2 separate regions of the Homo sapiens genome follow, and region 2 is linked to region 1. Evidence: promoter capture Hi-C in human tissues and cell types (Jung and others, 2019). All regions are on one chromosome and are shown on one strand. Each heading gives the region's core, a stretch centred on a gene start or on the middle of the fragment in contact. The rest is flanking DNA. Distances are from core to core; before and after follow the strand shown.

What was found. The method cuts DNA at HindIII sites, captures the fragments that hold promoters and counts their contacts. A contact is called where the count stands out against the background at its distance.
Region 2: a fragment that was not itself captured here is called in contact with the fragment with the promoter of CHAC1 in region 1 in 1 of the 25 tissues and cell types used here (spleen).

Annotation. Positions count from the first base shown.
Region 1 is chr15:40,949,788-40,956,850 of GRCh38, forward strand. It overlaps CHAC1 (ChaC glutathione specific gamma-glutamylcyclotransferase 1), which reads left to right and starts at 3,684. Exons shown (of 3, transcript NM_024111.6): 1 at 3,684-4,027; 2 at 4,441-4,476; 3 at 5,586-6,725. The coding sequence starts at 3,797. The coding sequence ends at 5,987. RefSeq lists enhancers at 2,893-3,486, 5,912-6,462 and a silencer at 3,158-3,417. The HindIII fragment of the contact is 19,989 bases long and covers 1-7,063 here.
Region 2 is chr15:41,527,222-41,534,284 of GRCh38, forward strand. RPAP1 (RNA polymerase II associated protein 1) reads right to left here. Exons shown (of 25, transcript NM_015540.4): 7 at 3,802-3,981; 8 at 2,643-2,758; 9 at 2,249-2,347; 10 at 1,014-1,115; 11 at 639-806; 12 at 202-384; 13 at 1-80. Among named protein-coding and RNA genes, the nearest start is that of RPAP1, 14 kb to the right of the region's middle. The HindIII fragment of the contact is 5,608 bases long and covers 694-6,301 here.

The DNA.
Region 1 (7,063 bases), core at 2,434-4,933:
GGCTCTGGAGCTGGCCCAGCTGCCTTCAGATCCAGGCTCCACTACTTTCTGCCACGTCACCAACAGGGTTTACCTAGCTTTCCTGCATGCTTATCTGTGAAATGATATTTACCTCACAAAGTAGTGAAGAAATGTGTAATTAGAATGGATGATGTAAAGGCGTTTAGCAAATTGCCTGGCACATGTTATACACATAATAAATGAGTGTTTCTGTTGTAAGCACGAGTTGGAAGGGACAGATAAGTAAACTGCAGTGGCGTAAAGTGTTGTGGGAGTGTAGAGGAGGGAGTGTCTGACTCTGCCAGGAGCAAGATCAGGTTATTGAGGACATTGCCAAAAGAGTTATGAAACACTGGGACTTTGGTCAGGGTGGGAGGAGGTCTGAGAACGGGCATCATGAAAATGTTCCCTAAATGTTTCAGGTATGCTATCCATCCCTCCCCCTCCAGAAAACCACTAATGACTCTTTAAAAGTAACTTTTTTTTTTTTTTTTAGACAGGATCTTGCTCTGTTGCCCAGGTTAGAGAGCAGTGGCACAATCATGGCTCACTACAGCCTCGACCTCCTGGGCTCAAGCAACCCTCCTGCCTCGGTCTCCTGAGTAGCTGGGACTACAGGTGCATGTTGCTAAGCCCGGCTAATTTTTAAAAATTTTTTTGTAGAGATGAGGTTTCATTATGTTTCCCAGGCTGGTCTCAAACTCCTGAGCTCAAGTGATCCTCCTGCTTGGCCTCCCAAAGTGCTGAGATTACAGGTGTGAACCACCACGCCCAGCAAAAATTAACTTATTATTATTTAAAAATTACTTTTCATAAAACTTGGAAAATAGAGGAAAGAATTGCTCACAATCCCAACACACTAGTATTTGCTGCCTCCCTATCTTTATTGTTACTGTTTTTAAGTTTTAATCATAGTTCATGTGAAAATTTATATTTTGCATTTTTGCCTTAATATGCAATCATACACATGTTTACTACGTTTTTTTTGTTTGTTTTGTTTGTTTGTTTCCCGAGACAAACTCGTGCTCTGTTGCCCAGGCTGGACTGCAGTGGTGGGATCTTGGCTCACTGCAACCTCTGCCTCCTGGGTTGAAGTAATTCTCCTGCCTCAGCCTCCCGAGTAACTGGGATTTCAGGCACCTGCCACCATGCCCGGCTAATTTTTTTTGTATTTTTAGAAGAGACGGGGTTTCACCATGTTGCCCAGGCTGGTCTCGAACTCCTGAGCTCAGGCAGTCTGCCCACCTTGGCCTCCCATAGTGCTAAGACTACTGGCGTGAGCCACTGCACCCGGCCCAACATACATATTGTTTCTAATGTCTGCACAAATTTAATGGACTATATCATATTTATGTAACTAATTATCTATTGCTGGGTATTTAGGTTGTTTTCTTTGTGTTTGTGTGTGTGTGTATGTGCACATTTTTCTGTCATGTGAATGGTAAATTGACATAATTTCCTTAAACATTTAGCTAATTTTGGATATTTAAGTAGTTTTTCTTCTTTTGTTTTTGCTATAATATGTAAAGGTCGGGCGTGGTGGCTCACGCCTGTAATCTCAGCACTTTGGGAGGCCAAGGTGGGCGGATCACAAAATCAGGAGTTTGAGATCAGCCTGGCCAATATGGCGAAACCTCGTGTCTACTAAAAATACAAAAATTATCCAGGCGTGGTGGCAGGTGCCTGTAGTCCCAGCTACTCGGGAGGCTCAGGCAGGAGAATCGCTTGAACCTGGGAGGCGGAGGTTGCAGTGAGCCGAGATTGTGCCACTGCACTCCAGCCTGGGCAACAGAGAGAGACTCCACCTCAAAAAAAAAAAAAAAAAAAAAAAAAAAAAAAAAAAGTAACAATGCATTGAAAATCTTCAGGCATATGGCTTTTCCCGTATTTTGAATAATTTCCTGAAGGAGTATTGGGTCAAAGGGCAGGGATATTTTGTGATTCTTGACTTGTATCACCAAGCTGCTTTCTCAAAGGGTTGTTTGTGCCAATTCAGATACTTCAGCAATATGTGGATACCAGTTTCCCACTTCCCGGACTACAACCCACAGCTGGTGAGTGGAAAAGAGGACATTCTTCTAAGAAGCTACCAACAAAGGAGGTGCTCATATGAACGAAAGGGGACAGGATAGAAGAGAAGAGGGAGACTGAATGTGGGAAATGGAGAGAAAGCGAAAAAGAAAGGAATAACCAGAAAGGACCATTTGCTGGTAATTTTTTTTTTTTCCTGATTGGAAAAGTAATTCATGCTCCCTGTAAAAATCCAGACTTTTTCATTACTGTTTAAGTTTGATACTGAAAGTCCTCCTCTGGTGCCAGCCTCTGCTAACTGTTTAGGTATATTCTTCCAGATTATTTATTACACGAATACTTTTTGTTTTTAAAGAAATAGCTTTGTACTATACACACTGTTGTGCAAGTTTCCCACTTATATCTGCGACACCTTCGGAATGAATATGTGAAGTGTGAAGATCACGTTTAGTTTAAATATTGAATTAGAATCGAATGAGAAGCCATGTTGCACATTGCCCCTGCCAGCCATCTCCTGGCCAGTTTAGAGAGAAGGCCTTCAGCTGCCTCTGTTTCCCTTTTACAGTCAGTGACATCCCCTGAGGGCAGTCCCTTGCTGCGTATTGGGTCAACCCCCGGCGGCCTGTGGACTCGGCTGGGAGGCCAGAAGCCGAGGGAGAAGACCAGTAGCTGGCCATAGTCTTGTGGGGGCCTCACTGGGCCCTCCTTGCCCGCTGCTCCCGGAACCTTGTGCCTATGGATTAATCATTGCTGCAAAATCTCACGTCCAGGAAGAATTAAACCCATCGCCTTGGGGGCAAGACTAGCCTGGCTTTTGCATCTTTATAGCCTTTCTCCGCAGGTGCAGCCACCACCTCCAAAGTGACTGCCGGTCGGTCCAAGCGCTCTAACAGGCTCTTCCCCGAGCCTACCTGGGCTCGAGGGGTCCCACACCTGGTCCGGGGCGTAGCCCATGTGAGGCCTGCAAGCTCCGGGCGCCTGGCCTACCTAACTCAGCCCCGCAGTCTCTGCAGAACCCCCTGCAGCCCCGTGGCCCAGTTTCTCCATTTGCTCACAATGGCCAACGGCGTGAGGCACTTGAGCGGAATGCGGACGGTGCCTCCGACAGCTTTCCCGCAGTGCATGATCTCAGGAGGGGCCCCAGAGACGGAAGTTTACGACGCCCAGAGCGCTCCTTCTGGACGTGCCCTGGACTCGACTTGGGACTGAGTCTGTGCCGCCTAGGCTGGCAGGGACTCGGCCAGATGCACTAGCGGCAAGGCTGGGCTGACACCGCCTGGGACTCGCTCGCCGTACCTCCAAGGGGCCCAGGTCATGAGGGGGCGGCTGGGGAGACGCCCGCCCGGTGCCCGCCCTGGGCCCGGCGGGTGCCCCCTGCCCGCCGCCTGACGCAATCCGAGGCGCCCTTGCTGCATGCCGGCGCTGGAGAAACCTCCCCTGCCGTTGCATCACTCCTGCCAGGTTTGCCACAGAGGTGGAGCTGAACCAATCAGCGGGCGCGCTGGGCCCGCGGCGCGGTTAAGTGAGAAGCAGAATCCGAAGTTGATTGGCCAAAAGGGGATTTGCCCCACCCCAATCACCGCGGCAGCTGGCCGCGGTGGGCGTGGTCTCCCGGCAAGAAGGTTTAAAGGGCGCCTCCATGGGGGGCGCTCAGCTGGAGCTACCGAGCGGTGCCAGGCCAGGTGTGTGCGTCCGTCGGTCTTTCCGTGCCCACGCCGGAGACCAGCCCCGGAGGCCGCCTGGGCCTATCCCTGTGCCAGGCACCATGAAGCAGGAGTCTGCAGCCCCGAACACCCCGCCCACCTCGCAGTCCCCTACGCCGTCCGCTCAGTTCCCCCGAAACGACGGCGACCCTCAAGCGCTGTGGATTTTCGGGTACGGCTCCCTGGTGTGGAGGCCCGACTTCGCCTACAGCGACAGCCGTGTGGGCTTCGTGCGCGGCTACAGCCGCCGTTTCTGGCAGGGAGACACCTTCCATCGGGGCAGCGACAAGATGGTGAGCATCCAACCGTGCCCAGGGGAGTGAGGGGGTTGGGGGCGGGATACTGGGCGCCAGTGCCCTGGAATGTCCGGGGCTCTCTGGGCCAATAGAAAGAAATGTGTAAACCTGTGTCTGGGGTTTGTGGCTCATTTAAATGTATGTGCCCAGTGCATCACTGTGATGGCTGGAGTCTGTGAACCTGTGGATCCCTGTGTTGATCACCAACTGGGACCACTGACATGTCAGTGTTTCTGGACGTTTCTCCTACATCCGTGCATCGCTCCCCCACCTTCCCCTGCATGAATGGGACTCAGCATGCAGAGTGGGGCACTTGGAGGCCCGGGTCAGCGGGATTGATAAAGGTTTCCTTGCTGATGGCAGAGCTGATTTCTAACTTGTCTATTTCAAAATATTTCTTCCCTCCCTAGCCTGGCCGTGTGGTGACGCTCCTTGAAGATCATGAGGTAAGTGCCCGAATCATGAAGGGGAACCCTGGCCCAGTGTGAAGGGGGACCAGCAGAGAGAGCTCATAGGCTCTTGGCTGCAGGCTAGCTCTGTCTGATGCTTCTCTGGCAGAGTAGAAACGTGTTCTAGCTCAGTGCTTCTCACCAAATCACATGAGGATCTTGTTAGAATGCAGATTTTAGTTCAGTAGCATGAGAATGGGTCCTGAGACACAGCATTCCTAACTAGCTTACAGGTGATGCCACCACATCCTGGACCACACTTTGAGGAGGAATCCTGTCTTCCCTGGTACTAGACCACTTTGTCAACTGTTTTTTTTTTTTGTTGTTGTTGTTGTTGTTTTGTTTGTTTGTTTTTGAGACAGAGTCTTGCTCTGTTGCCCAGGCTGGAGTGCAGTGATGCAATCTTGGCTCACTGCAACATCTGCCTTCCAGATTCAAGCGATTCTCCCACCTCAGCCTCCCGAGTAGCTGGGATTACAGGCATGCGCTACCACACTCAGCTAATTTTTGTATTTTTAGTAGAGACGGAGTTTCACCATATTGGCCAGGCTGGTCTGGAACTCCTGATCTCAAGTGATCTGCCCACCCTCAGCCTCCCAAAATGCTGGGATTACAGGCATGAGCTACTGCACCTGGCCTCAACTATGCCTTTTTTTTTTTTTTTAAGACGGAGTCTTACCCTTGTCACCCAGGCTGAAGTCACTGCAACCTCCACCTCCTGGGTTCAAACGATTCTACTGCCTCACCCTCCCGAGTAGCTGGGTTACAGGCGTACGCCACCATGCCTGGCTAATTTTTGTATTTTTAGTAGAGATGGGGTTTCACCATTTTGGCCAGGCCGGTCTCGAACACCTGACCTGAAGTGATCCACCTGCCTTGGCCTCTCAAAGTGTTGGGATTACAAGCATGAGCCACCACGCCTGGCCTTTCAACTGTTCTTAACAAAGAGAGTACAAGGGCTTGAGGTACTGCCACCAGATGGCTCATCAGCCGACCACAGCCTCCCTTATAGAGCACAGTCCTGGGTGGGGGTGGCATGTTAGGATAGGAGAGGGAGCAGCAAGGAGCTGTCATGACTGACCCCGGGTGTCCCTATTTCTTCCCAGGGCTGCACTTGGGGCGTGGCATACCAAGTGCAAGGGGAGCAGGTAAGCAAGGCCCTGAAGTACCTGAATGTGCGAGAGGCAGTGCTTGGTGGCTACGATACCAAGGAGGTCACCTTCTATCCCCAAGATGCTCCTGACCAACCACTGAAGGCATTGGCCTATGTGGCCACCCCACAGAACCCTGGTTACCTGGGCCCTGCGCCTGAAGAGGCCATTGCCACGCAGATCCTGGCCTGCCGGGGCTTCTCCGGCCACAACCTTGAATACTTGCTGCGTCTGGCAGACTTCATGCAGCTCTGTGGGCCTCAGGCGCAGGACGAGCACCTGGCAGCCATCGTGGACGCTGTGGGCACCATGTTGCCCTGCTTCTGCCCCACCGAGCAGGCTCTGGCGCTGGTGTGAGGGGCTGAGCCCCTGCGGGGAGTGCTCATGTGGACATCAGGGCCAGACACCCACTCCAGTGCACAAGACAGACTTGCGACCGCTTGAGCCCACTGAGCAGATATGGTGGGTGGCTGGAGGCTTCTCTTTCTCAGTCCCTGCCTGTCTGCCAGCCTGCAGCTCTCCTGCTTGACACTGACTTACTACTTGAAACTTTATTTATTGCACCATGTTGGTGTGGTGGGCAGGTGGAGGGCCTGCCCTGGACACAGGGGCCCTGCTGAGCAGTGGCCCCATCCTGGAACTTGACCAGATTCCCCCCAGTGCTGCTGCTAACCCCACACCACCCAGGCCTCCACCTCCCCAGGGAGTCTCCAAGAGCCTCGATCCTCTGCTCACTCAGCCCAGCCATCCATAGCCCTGGGAATTCCACCTGCCAAGGATCCCAGCAGGCTGGATGAGGGATAGTAGGGCATGAGGAGAAGGAGCCCTGTAAGGACTGAGGCCCCGGCCAGCCCTTCTCCTCCACCAGTTCCCCAGAGCAGAGCTGGAGCTGATGCCTGGACACAGCTGCTGAGCCTGGCCTGGGCCTCTTACCCACTTGGTTGTTTTCTTGTCCCTCTGTCTGTCTGTCTATCTACTTGTCTGTCTGGGCCACTCCTGCCTGTGTGTTGGTCTATTCCTGGGAAGCTCATCACTACAGGCCCTGGCAACCTTCCCAGTCTGTCCCATACTGTTACCCATAAAACTATCTCTTTATCTGTGCTGTGCCGGAATGTGGTTCTTTCTCAGATGGGGGTTTGGGGCAAGTGAGGTGGTGATGCCCTGGAAGGCTCCTAAGAGGGGAAAGGGCTCCCTCTTCCTCTCCTTCCCTCTCTTCCCAGGAGGGGCAGCTGGGCAGGCAGAATTAGCAGGTGACATCACTCTCATGGGTACAGTTCATGCCTTACGCATGCAAATAGTACCCCCTGAGTTGTGCAGAATTCAGCTCATGCTCTACTTGGCAGCCCTGTGAGCAGTGTCCTTGCCACCAACCTGGACTCTGTCTCATCCTGCCCAGCTGCCCCAAGGAGGCTGGCAGGCTTGGAGCTCAGACC
Region 2 (7,063 bases), core at 2,248-4,747, 580 kb after region 1:
TCAAGGACCACCGCAGGTCCTGGGTATGTCACCTCCAGCACGTAGCGCAGCCGAGGCAGCAGGCTGGTAGCCAGGAGCCCCTGGGAGTTGGAGAGAGAAACCCACTGACAAATGCAGCTGGACCCTGGGCATTGATGGCCCCTCTTTCCAGCATGTGCTTGTCCCCTGGGCCATGGGATGGGAAAGAAGCTGTCCCTTTACCTTGATGACATCATGTCGGGCCAGGTCAGGTGGAGGCCGGCTTTCTTCTTCAGGGCTTTTCCTTTTTGCTTTTCCTGCTGGGCATTCTTCATCCTCGTCCTCATCCTCCTTGTCCTCCTGGCTGGGCATCAGAGGGAACGTCAAAGCTCCATGGTACCAAGAGAAGGTGCTGTCGAGGAGCTCCTGCCAGAGGAACGGGAGTTGGGGGGCAATGCTGAAGGGGCCAGGAAATGGATCCAGGAGTAGAGAGGATGCTCCCCAATAAAAACCATAAAGGCAAGCCTCCTGGGCTTTAGGGACTTTAGGAGATGAGGGAGACGCCTGCCATCCCATTCTACATCTTGCCCGCAAAGCCTTAGCAATGGGGCCATGCCCAGGAACAGGAATATGGACCCTGGCACCTCCCAGCCCAAGCCCCATTCCTATCCCTGTGGTACCTCATCTCCAGGAGCCACCAGCAGAGCCCGAAGAGCACGGATGGCGGTTGCAATGACCCCATCCACTCTGTCATCCAAGGAGAAGCGCAGTAGGAAGAGGAAACCAGCATCCAAAAGGAGGCTTAAGACACTGCCTGCTAGCCGGTCCCCAAACTCACCAGCCTGGGCCTGAGGGCAGGAGGGTAAAACCTTGCTGAAGATGCTGAAGTTATCTAGAGGCTTTGCCCTAATCCTTCGTTTGCCCCCCTATGATCCTAGGTTGTTAAAAGCACATAGCTGGCTAGTGAGCCAGAGTGAAAAGGGCAGGAGATGGGGAAGTCTGAGGCTGTGGGGTGAAGGGAAGGGTGGGCAGGACCAGGCTGGCAATCCACTCACCCTGCTGATGACCTGGGCTAACACATGCAGTGCCAGTGCTCTCTGCTGGGAAACCTGGCTGCGGGTCAGGTGGAACAGCTCCTGTAGGGAATACCCCGCTCTCTGGGGCAGGGACAAGAAGTCAGAAGCAGCCAGGATACAGCACAGTGCCCCCAAAACACCAAGCAAGGTATCACAGGAAAGACAAAGATAAATAAGTGAAATCTGCCCTGCTTTCCATGGAGCCTCAAGCCGGTAAAGATAAGACTTGCATACAAGTAACCATGCCATGAGGCAGATGCAGAGGAACGTGATAACTGATGTTTAATTTGCGACCGGCGGACAGGAGAGAGAGAGAAGGGAACCTGGAAAATTAAATTGGTCTCAGTGGATGGGTAGAGCTTTGATGGCCTGACATGGAGCAAAAGGCAAAGGCATTTCCTGGAGCGAGTGGAGTCCTGGAGGGCCCTGAGCACAGGAGGTATGTGGGGAGAAGCCAGCAGAGTGGTGTAGCAGGAAGTGAAGGAGGCAGAGCAGCAGGGTCAGCAGGGACAAAAGGTAGAAGGAATATCTTGCCCAGCTGAGACCAGAACCTTATTTTGTGAGCAGAGGGAAGCTGGGAAACTTCTGGAGGCAAGGCATGGCCTGAGCTGGGCCAGAAGAAATCAGCACAGCAGCCCCGAGAGACATGGAATGGCAGGGGGGCGGAGAATGGAGGGCATGGAGAGTGAGCAGACCAAGGAAGCAAGGCCACAGTGCAGGAGGCATCATGAGGAGGTGACAGAAGATCGGCAAATTCTAGCAACTGACCAGAATACGGAGAGAGGATCAAGATTTTGAGCCTAAGAAACTGAATGCCACGCCTGTAATCCCAGCACTTTGGGAGGCCGAGGCAGGCGGATCACAAGCTCAGGAGATCAAGACCATCCTGGCTAACATGGTGAAACCCCGTCTCTACTAAAAATACAAAAATTAGCTGGACGTGGTGGCATGCGCCTGTAATCCCAGCTAGTCAGGAGGCTGAGGCAGGAGAATGGCTTGAACCCAGGAGGTGGAGGCTGCAGTGAGCCAAGATCATACCACTGCACTCCAGCCTGGGCCAGAGCGAGATTCTGTCTCCAAAAAAAGAAACTGAATGCACAGCAAAGGCATGAACTAGAACAGGGCACACAGAAGGTCAAAGGCAGTTGACCAGAGATCCTTTTCCATGGGGTTGTTAAAAGAGCTGCCCCATCCTCTCCAGTCCCATGCCTCACCTCTGCCTCCTCTCCATGGTGGTGCAGACCCAGGTGGGTGGGCAGGTCCACGTCAGGGGCCAGTAGTTCTCCCTGAAGACTGAATCGAGCCTGCATCCTCTAATGGGAAGAGAAAGAGGACTGTGGTCTGGGGGCTCCAGCAACCTTCCCACACCCACTCCCCACCTTTAATCCCAGGCCTTTCAGGACTTAGGTACTGACTCTACTTCTACCAGAAATGGGGCTTATCTGGCCTTGGGGGCCAGGCAGAGTGATGGTAAAGGTGGGTGAGAGCAAAGGAGAGATGCTTCTCAGGCTCTGGGCAATAGAAAGGCCTGAGTTCTGAGGGCAAGAGCAGCAGCTCCTCTCCTGCCCTATCTCACCCACCCCTTGTAGGCCAGGTGGCCCTCCTCACCTCCTGTGTCTGCTGCCGCCGGACAGGGGGCAAGTCCTGGGTCCAGTGGAGCTTCTCCAGCTCGACAGTGTCCATGTGCAGCCATTCTTTCTGAGGGGTCACGGGCAATGCCAGAGCTGGGGAGACAAAGCATGATAGTATTACCCAAACGGCTCAGCTCACTATCCACAGGGGTCCCCACCATCACCCAGCAGCTGCCACATCCACTTCTGTTCCAGGATCTGCCAGCTTCTACCCTCGGTTATGGCTAAATGGCATGGCCCAGGGACTGGAACTCCTGGGGCTGGGGTGAAAGTCTCAAATATGACAGACACACTCCATCCTGGGCTCCAGCCCCTTGCTGACCCCAAGGATTTGTTGGGAGGGGAGAGAGGAGGAGAAGGAGAAGGAAGAAAGAGAAAGAAAGGAGAAAAAGATGAAGAAGGAGGACCACATATGTCAGGAAGGCACCATCTCCACTTTCCAGTACCAGCCCTTAAAGGAGTAGGAGAGTGGGGACAATGAGGAGGAGGCAACTATACTGCTCCTGGGGGGCAGGATACAGAAACAAATCCCACAGCATTTTCCTCCTTCACGCCTACCCCCACCCAACCTGCTCAGCTGGCCTGGAGCTCCTCCGGGGGCATGAGGTTCCTGGCTCTCATAATTCAATTTCTTATTTTGTTAATCACTAATGAAATAATCTAGTTTCTGGGAAATGAGTGCTTCCACTGGCCTCTCTGCTTCTGGTCTGGCATGTTCATAAGATCTTTGTCAGATTCTGCCTCTCTTATTACTCTGGCCCTGCCATCTTTCCCCCAGCACTGTGAGCAGAGAGAGAAAGAACAGTGGGATGGACAGAGCCAGAGCTGGGGCAGCTACAGCAAGGACAGGAAGATAGTCTGCCGGGAGCGGGTGGAGTGGGATTCAGCCATCACGCATTGCTGCCTCTTAAAAGGGAAGGCGGAGAAGGGGCAGTAACAGGACAAGAAAACAGGAAGCATGTGCAGGAAGAAGACATGCATCAGCAATGAAGACTGACTTGAAGCCAATAATGAGGATTAATGTTAGATGTCCAAAAGCACAGAAGCTTCTCTCTTCTCTCATTTGCCAGGCCTAGGAAAAGGGACAATTTCCCCTACTTTTATCCACCAAAATATGACCCCCGCCTCCTGCAAACCTGGGGCTTCTGGCTCCAGCTTGTCTCTCTTCCTGGGCTCACTGGCAAAAGCTGACATGAGGGGTTCCTCCTTGGTGACATTAGCAGAGGGTCCTCCTGGCCTCTGCTCCTCAGAGGCTGTCTCTCCTGTTTGCTCTTGCGTGTGGCTGTGAGATCTCAAGAAAGCAACCAAGCTGGGGTCTAGAGGCGAAGGTAGAGGGGAGAGTGAGTGAGGGTAGATCCTCCCTGGCCTCCTACAGACCTGGAACCCGCTGAATATCGCCTGTCTGTGGGTGCCAAGGACAGGACAAGCTGCTTCCGAGCCTGGGCCTGAGCCTTCTGGGTGCTCCTGTGGCCCATCAATGACCCAGCCTTCTCACACCTGTGGGGTCACTAGGCCCACCTGCCCACCTGCCCACCTTTCCCTCTATCCCTCACAGTCCACTGGCCCAGGTTCCTATGCCTATCCCTTTGGTTTCAGGTCACAGTTCCAATGTAAGTGGCTGTAGAATGAATAAGTTAATGTTGACTAGGGCCAAAAAGAAGGCATTTACAGAAAGAATTTCCTTCTCTTAGCTAATTTATTTATGCACACACACATATATATATATATATATATATATATATTTTTTTTTTTTTTTTTTTTTTTTTTTTTTTGAGACGGAATCTCGCTGTGTCGCCCGGGCTGGAGTGCAGTGGTGCAATCTCAACTTACTGCAACCTCCATCTCCCAGGTTCAAGGGATTCTCCTGCCTCAGCCTCCTGAGTAGCTGGGATTAAAAGTGCCTGCCACCACGCCTGGCTAATTTTTGTATTTTTACTAGAGACGGGGTTTTACCATGTTGCTCAGGCTGTAAATATATATTTTTAAAGAGATAGGGTCTTGCTCTGTTACCCATGCTGGAGTGCAGTGGCACAATCGTAGCTCACCACAGCCTCAAACTCCTGGGCTCAAGCAATCCTCCCGCCTCAGCCTCCCAAGTAACTGGGACTACCGGCATGCACCACCATATCTGGCTAATTTTTTTTTTTTTTTTTGAGACAGAGTCTCACTCTGTCGCCCAGGCTGGAGTGCCATGGCACGATCTCGGCTCACTGCAAGGTCCGCCTCCCGGGTTCAAGTGATTTTCTTGCCTCAGCCTCCCGAGTAGCTGGGACTACAGGCGTGTGCCACCACGCCCAGCTAATTTTTGTATTTTTAGTAGAGACAGGGTTTCACCGTGTTGGCCAGGATGGTCTCAATGTCTTGATCTTGTGATCCGCCCACCTCAGCCTCCCAAAGTGCTGGGATTACAGGCGTGAGCCTCCACACCTGGCTGTAATTTTTTATATCTTTATTTTTTGTAGAGATGGGGTCTCATGATGTTCCTCAAGCTGGTCGTAAACTCTTGGCCTCAAGCAATCCTCTCACCTCAACCTCCCAAAGTGCTGGAATTACAGGGCAAGGCACCATACTGAGCCCTAACACGTATTATACTCTATAGAGGTGCTAGTATACAGTGGGTAACAAGATTGACTGAGTGCCTGGCATTTTGGTGAACAGACACTAGGGGTGAGGCATAGCATAGAACAGTATCACAGAGTAGAAGAGACTATACATATACTAGAGTATAGCTATAATAAAGCATAGTGTATACTATACCAGGGTAGTACAGTTATACATAGCACAGTGGTTAAAAAGTAGGGCCTCGGCTGGGCACGGTGACCATCTCAAAAAAAAAATCGCAGCACTTCAGCAGGCCGAGGCAGATGGGTCGCTGGAGGTCAGGAGTTCAAGACCAGCCTGGCCAACATGGTGAAACCCATCTCTACTAAAAATACAAAAAAATTAGCTGGGTGTGGTGGTGCACATCTGTAATCCCAGCTACTCAGGAGGCTGAGGCAGGAAAATCGCTTGAACTAGGGAGGTACAGGTTGCAGTGAGCTGAGATCGTGTCACTGTACTCCACCCAGGACAACAGAGCGAGACTCCGTCTCAAAAAAAAAAAAAAAAAAAAAAAAAGCAGGGCATATGAGACCAGGTAGATCTGGGTTTAAATCCTGTGTCCTGTGCTTCTTATAAGGTGTGTGACCTGGGTAGAATTTCTTTTAAATTTTAGGCCTCAGTTTCTTTCATAAGTAAAATAGGGTTAATACCACCTACCTCACAGGACAAGTTTAAGGACAGAACTGAATAATGCATTAAAGGTCAGGCACGGTGGCTCATGCCTGTAATCCCAGCACTTTGGGAGGCTGAGGTCGGTGGATCACTTGATGCCAGGAGTTCGAAACTAGCCTGGCCAACATGGTGAGACCCCATCTCTACTGAAAATAAAAAAAATTAGCCAAGCATGGTGGTACACACCTCTAATTCCAGCTGCTGAAAAGGCTGAGGCACAAGAATCACTTGAACCTGGGAGGCAGAGGTTGCAGTGAGCCGAGATCGTGCCATTCCACTCCAGCCTGGGTGACAGAGGGAGACTCTGAAAACAAAAAACAAAAAACAAAAACCAACCTGTGCAATATAGTGAGACCTCATCTCTACAAAAACCTTAAAAGAAATTCGCTGGGGGCCAGGCACGGTGGCTCACACCTGTAATCCCAGCACTTTGGGAGGCACTTTGATCCACCTGAGGTCAAGAGTTCGAAACCAGCCTGGCCAATACAGGGAAACCCCGTCTCTACTAAAAATACAAAAAATAAAAAAATTAGCCAGGCATGGTGGCAGGCGCCTGTAATCCCAGCTACTTTGGAGGCTGAGACAGGAGAATTGCTTGAACCTGGGAGGCAGAGGTTGCAGTGAGCAGAGATTGCGCCATTGCACTCCAGCCTGGGCAACAAGAGGAAAAATCCGTCTTAAAAAAAAAAAAAAACCTAGGCGCAGTGGCTCCAGCACTTTGGGAGGCCAAGGCCAGTGGATCACCTGAGGTCAGGAGTTCGACACCAGCCTGGCCAACATGGTGAAACTCCGTCTCTACTAAAAATACAAAAATTAGTTGGGTATGGTGGTGGGCACCTGTAATCCCAGATACTCAGGAGGCTGAGGCAGGAGAATCATTTGAACCCAGGAGGCGGAGGTTGCAGTGAGCCTACGTCGCGCCATTGCACTCTAACCTGGGCAACAAGACCGAAACTCCATCTCAAAAAAAAAAAAAGGCCGGGCATGGTGGCTCATGCTTGTAATCCTAGCACTTTGGGAGGCCGAGGAGGGCAGATCACCTGAGGTTGGGAGTTCGAGACCAGCCTGACCAACATGGAGAAACCCTACCTCTACTAAAAATAAAAAAATTAGCTGGGCGTGGTG